Regions from separate parts of the Homo sapiens genome. Here region 2 is linked to region 1. Evidence: promoter capture Hi-C in 16 types of primary human blood cells and fetal thymus (Javierre and others, 2016). All regions are on one chromosome and are shown on one strand. Each heading gives the region's core, a stretch centred on a gene start or on the middle of the fragment in contact. The rest is flanking DNA. Distances are from core to core; before and after follow the strand shown.

Region 1 (2,817 bases), core at 116-2,615:
GCATCCAAACTACTGAGCGTGCAGTAAATCAACGCATTCCCACTTCCATTCCATCCACGCTGATTTAGATCAATCCAAGTATCACTGCCTTGGGGTTCAAAAGGCCATGTTAGTTCACAAAGCCCCGAAAATGCTCTTTCACACTCTCTGCTCAGCCTCCAACGTGTCTTTTTAATAATCCAAACTTTCCACCTACTTAACTGAAGTGTGTGGGGGGAGAGGGTGCGGGGGGGAAGGGGTGGCCTATACTAAATAGCCCAACTGTTTTCCACTTGTCCTGAAATCTGAGACCAAGATTCTCTTAGGAATGCAAGCAAAGGGAGCCGACGGGACGCCAAGAAAGCACAGGTTAAACTACCTCACTTCATCTAGCCCCATTTCTCTCCTGGCTTTTCAATTAATTATTCAGCCTCAGACCAGCAGATGGAGCTGAAAATGTTGTCTAAAGAAATGAGGTTTTTCTTTTAATTTACAAGCTATAGTTTCTCATGCCTCCACACTGAATGGTTACATCCTGTTGAGCCTGTTCGTAAAGTTCAGTAAAAATCCAGTTCTCATTCCAGAACAGCTGAATCGTAGCTATGAACGCGGAAGAACAGAGTCCCAACCCCAGCCGGGCCCGGGTTTCCCGGGGCCCCTCAAGCCTCAGGGCAGTGGAGAGCCGCCGTCACGCCCCCGCCTCCCCCACGTCCCACCCTCGCCCCAGTCTCCTCCCACTTTTAGCTACTTTTCCCATCTGACTAAAACTGGCTTCCTCCGTGTCCACCAAGATGTCGCCTCTAAGTGGCCTAACTCCTAAAGAGCGCGATCGGCTCAAGCACTCCGCCACGCGGTTTCCACGGGGCGCGGCCGGCGTTGCCCTCGCCGTGGCCTCAAGCATTGCGGCGCCCCACATGTTGCCAGACGGAAGGCCTCGGCGGGGTCAGGCAGCTGCTGCTGGCCGTGACTACATCACTGGTGACGTTTCACGAGACTTTTAACTGAAATCACTCCAATACAGGCGCATGCGGGACGAGGGGAAAGCATCTCACCCGACCCCACACACCTTCCCCTCCCTCTCCAGCCTAGCGGCCTCCGCTCAGCGGAAAAAAAAGCAGACGCTACTCCCCGCTCTAGGTGCGGGACCTAAGAGGTTTGGCCCAATCAGGCATCCCACCTAACCAGACGGGCCGGAGTCTGTGGCCCGGTTGGACCAACGAAAACTCTAGGGCGGATTTGCCGGGATTTCTGGGAAAGTGACACTCCCGGAAGCTACCGCCTCTTATAAGCCACACATGGGCGGAGTTAGCCTTCCGGCCCGCAGTCCCACTGGCTGACTTCGCTGCCCGTCACGGGAATGCGGGAGAGGGCGGCGCCGGGGCGCTCGCGTCTGCGTGGAGACCGGCTGGCCGCGCGCGGGAAGCCGCGGAACTGCGCCGGAAAGTCCCCCGGCTCTGGGGCCCCGGTGACCCAGAGTAAGCCTCCAAGAAGGAGGAGGAGGAGAGAAAGGCGGCTCTTCCCGTGCCCCTACCAGAGGCTTCGGTGGGCCCACCTTGTGACCTCCGCGGCCGGCCCCTCAGTGGAACTGCGTCCCACGCGGGGGGCGTCCCGACCGTGGGGGCCGCGGCCCGCGCTGACCCTGGACGTCGCCGCGCAGGTACGTTGCCGTCCCCCGGCGGTCTGACCCCCGAGACAGCCCCTAGTGCATACCCCACGCCCTCCTCCATTGTCGAGAATGAGACACGGCTGTGCCTTTGTCCACGTGGTAGAGTTGCCGCCGCGGTGAGGCTCTCGCCTGTGCAAAAAGCGTGGCAGCGAATTCTCATCAACGAGGGGAGGCGCGTCCCCTCACAGCGCAGCTCTCGGGTCTGAGGAGGGCCGGGCAGGGCGTGCGTCTGTCTAGGTTTGAATTAAAGGCGACTCACAGGAAATAAGGCCATGCCACTGTGGTAGCTTTTCCCGTCCATCTCCGGACACTCGACGGTGTGGGTCGTGCGAGGAGGCGGCAGTCTTCACAGCCTCTTACTCTAGTCCTCACGGTCAGGTTCTTTTTCTGATTTGACACAGACAGCGGGACTGACGACCTCATAGGTAGCTGAAAACCGTAAGTGGAGATGGTCCTTCTATGGTGTGTGGGGGCGTGGCCAGTTGTTAGATTGTGTTTGGAAAGACAGCCAGGGGCGGAGAAGAGGGGCATTTCTGAGATGATGGGGGGACTGGTGCCATGGAGGGAGGAGGAGTGAGGTGGAGATCGGGAATTCCAGCCAAAGAGAAATGGGGTCCCTGGGAGAAAATTCCCACTCTAGCAGTCCTGGAGTTGTGCTCATGGAGACTTGCTTACGCGAGTACAAGGACAGCGTTGTATTGACAAAATTTCAGCCCTCAGTCTAGTCTTGTAAACGATAGATCAGGAGTGTACTTAACCGTCGTTACTTTGATCCAGCCCTAGGTTTCCCTTTTCTCATTTGTAAAATTGTTATAGTAATACCTTTTTCATCCATTTGTGGTAACATTTAAATGAGGTAATTTGTGTGAAGCCCTTAGCAAACACAGCGCTTCTTAGTCGTGGGTTCCGCGTGGGGTGGATTCAACCAACCTCAAATCAAAAATATTCTTCAGAAAAAGAAAAATGCGTTTGTACTGAACATGTAGAGGCTTTTTTTTTCTTGTCATTATTTCCTAAACTATACAGTATAACAACTATTTACATCCCATCTACATTGTATTAGGTATTATAAGTTACCTACAGATGATGAAGGTATATAGGAGGATGCTGCGCATAGGTTATATCAAACAGTACACCATTTTATCAGGGACTTGAGCATCTGCAGGTGTTGG
Region 2 (2,817 bases), core at 199-2,698, 1.6 Mb after region 1:
GGGGCCTGCTCAGCACCTGGTATCATCAGGCCCTGCCCGCCCCTGCCTCACCTCCAGCTTCTACGTCTGGAAGCTCCCTACCTGTCTCAGGCATGGCCCACCTCCCCTCCCACCCCGCATTAGAAGCAGTGGTGGGCTGGGGTCAGGCTGCCCCGGCAGGCTCCTGGTGCGAGCCTCGCACATGGCAGGTCCCCCATTCCCCTCGAGCAGGCCTGGCCTGCCCCAGGCATTGTTTCTATACAGACGGATTTTATGTGCCTTTTGTTTCTTCTCACAAGCCTGACGGTCCGTGGGTTCTTTCCGTTGACGTCATCGCGGCCATCACCACCATCACCCTCTGCACCCAGCAGCAGCCTCCAGCGGGGTCTCCCCAACTCTTCCCAGCACGTAGCTCCCTCCTCCCCTAGGCCAGTTCAGCCACCTTGCAGCTGCTCCCCCATCCCCTGCCCCTCTGCTCACCCATTTTACCCTCAGGTTGGTGTCCTCTCCTGTGCCCCAGGCCTGCTCTGCCTCCCCACCACTGTGGGCGGGGCCTGTCTTAGAGTCCACCCTGCATCTCCCCTAGCACCTGCCAAACAGTCCGTCTTGAATGAGGAAAAAGTGAGAGTGGTGTTTCGAATTAGTCACACCTGGGTTTAGCCCCCCACCCTGCACTCCAAGCTCTTGGTCTCCTCGCCTGCAGAATGGGCACACATGAGAAGAAACAGCATCGCAGGGCCCTCCAGACAGAGCAGGCAGAGGAGGAGAGCACCCATTCTCCCGCTCCCTGCCTTCAGTTGCACGGAGCAAACCCAGAGCCCCCTCCCTGGGGGGTCCTCTTCACAGTTCCTTGACTCCATCGGAGGCTCTCAAAGAGCTGCATTCGCTCACCACCTGCTGGACTGCTTGTTTTCTTCCCTGAAGATGAGTGGCCTCTTTGGGGTGTTAATTCTTAATGATCAACATTTCCTTGTTAATTTCTCTAAACAAATCATCCTAAAAATAGGTTTGACTTTTAAACAATTTTAAATTAAAAACTGAGCTTTTAATATCTGTTTAGACAACTGTAAGACAGTGAAAGGTTTATTGACTTGAAGCCTACATTTTAGGAAACATGTAGTTAAATAAAAAATACCAATTTCAGTATTTTTCATAACCTTTTTGTAACTTTACCACAATCTTTTAGGAACTAACGTCATGAGCTTGGAAGGGAAATTTATTTGAAGTTCAGCGTAAACTGAGTTTCACTTCATTTTTAAAATTCTGTTAATCTCAAGCAAAAGTAAATACATTTTATTTTTTAAAAAAGTTAATAGTGGTTAGCTTTAAGATATTAAAAATAATTATTTTTTGTTATGCTCCTCTGTATTTTTCAAATTTCTACCAAAAATAGGTAAGTTTATAGTCAGAAAAAGCCATAAAATGTAGTTTTTACAAAGAAAACAATGGACAGCCATATTAATGTAATGTGAGGAAAGAAAGCAAAACAACAACAACAACAACAAAAAAAAACGCTAATCTGACAGCAAAAATACACTGAACACATGCTACCCCTTCCATACACGTGTCTCTTTCTCTGCTGTTCAGATGACAGTGATGAGCTGAAACCAAGCTGGTTTCCAGAACAGTTTTTTGTTTTAACTAAAAGCCACATTCAACTTCCTGTCATCAACAAGCACAAGGACCAGAAGGAGCTGCCTTTGGCTCTGGGGACCCCTCCTTCCTGATGGTAACACTGCAGGTCCCAAGGGACCCCTCACTGCCAACACCAGTGTCAGAGTCACCTGAGAGCCTGGGGAAATGCAGGTTCCAGGACCTCCCCTAGATGGCCAAGCTCAGCCCCTGGTGCTCAGGAACAGAGCGGTTTCTATTCCATCTTCAGAGGCCTAAAGTCTTTTTTTTTTTTTTTTTTTCTGAGACGGAGTCTCGCTCTGTTGCCCAGGCTGGAGTGCAGTGGCGCGATCTCGGCTCACTGCAAGCTCCGCCTCCCGGGTTCACGCCATTCTCCTGCCTCATCCTCCCGAGTACCTGGGACTACAGGTGCCCGCCACCATGTCCAGCTAATTTTTTGTATTTTTAGTAGAGACCAGGTTTCACCGTGTTTGCCAGGATGGCCTCGATCTCCTGACCTCGTGATCTGCCCGCCTCGGCCTCCCAAAGTGCTGGGATTACAGACGTGAGCCACCTAAAGTCTTCTTAAGCAAAGGCTGCAGCAGTTTCAGGGGGGATGTGTGTGACACTAATTAGTGTGAAGGACAGTCCCAGGGCATGCCAGCGCAGGACACAGCTATCCACCAGCACACAGGACCAGCACGTGGCCAGCATTCTCTATGGGGTGGGGCACCAGCACTGCGCTGCTTTTTTGGGATGGAAGGCCAGGCTCCCTGGGCTGCTAAAGCACAAGGCAGGCACAGTCATCCAAAGCCCAGCCATGAAGCTCACCTTCTGGCCCAGAACCAACCACGGGACAGCCATTTGCCAGGTGGCCTCCCTTCACAATGGAGACTCTTTACCGGGATGGGGCGACAATCCCAAGGCCACAGAACTTCCAGTCCCATGCTTCTCTGCCCACTCCCGGCGCTGCACCACCCAGCCTGGGGGTGCCACGTGGTGACCAGAAACCTCGTCATCCTGTCTACCCTTGGTGGGGTCTGGTGTGCACCCACAGACATCCAGGACCCAGGAAAGGCCTCTTGCAGACCTCACACAGCAGTGGGAATGGCCTCCTCTGGGGCCCTCGCTCTGAGTTGACACTGACGTCCTGGCAAGGCCTCCCTGCAGTGCCCAGCTATGAAGCCTGTCCCCTCCCATTCCCCAATCACCCTGCCCTCAACACCC

Evidence for each region. Contacts are between HindIII fragments. The CHiCAGO score rates a contact against its expected background, and 5 or more counts as called.
Region 2: a fragment that was not itself captured here is called in contact with the fragment with the promoter of NXT1 in region 1 in 1 of 17 cell types (neutrophils); the score reaches 5.3 in neutrophils.

Annotation. Positions count from the first base shown.
Region 1 is chr20:23,349,426-23,352,242 of GRCh38, forward strand. NXT1 (nuclear transport factor 2 like export factor 1) reads left to right here and starts at 1,366. Exons shown (of 2, transcript NM_013248.3): 1 at 1,366-1,636. NXT1-AS1 (NXT1 antisense RNA 1) reads right to left here and starts at 2,042. Exons shown (of 3, transcript XR_937384.2): 1 at 1,905-2,042. RefSeq lists enhancers at 367-1,239, 948-1,087, 1,007-1,301, 1,240-2,111, 2,168-2,217 and silencers at 658-787, 1,408-1,677. The HindIII fragment of the contact is 12,471 bases long and covers 1-2,817 here.
Region 2 is chr20:24,953,574-24,956,390 of GRCh38, forward strand. All of the region lies in intron 1 of CST7 (cystatin F), which reads left to right. Among named protein-coding and RNA genes, the nearest start is that of CST7, 5.7 kb to the left of the region's middle. RefSeq lists an enhancer at 1,675-1,804. The HindIII fragment of the contact is 3,090 bases long and covers 1-2,817 here.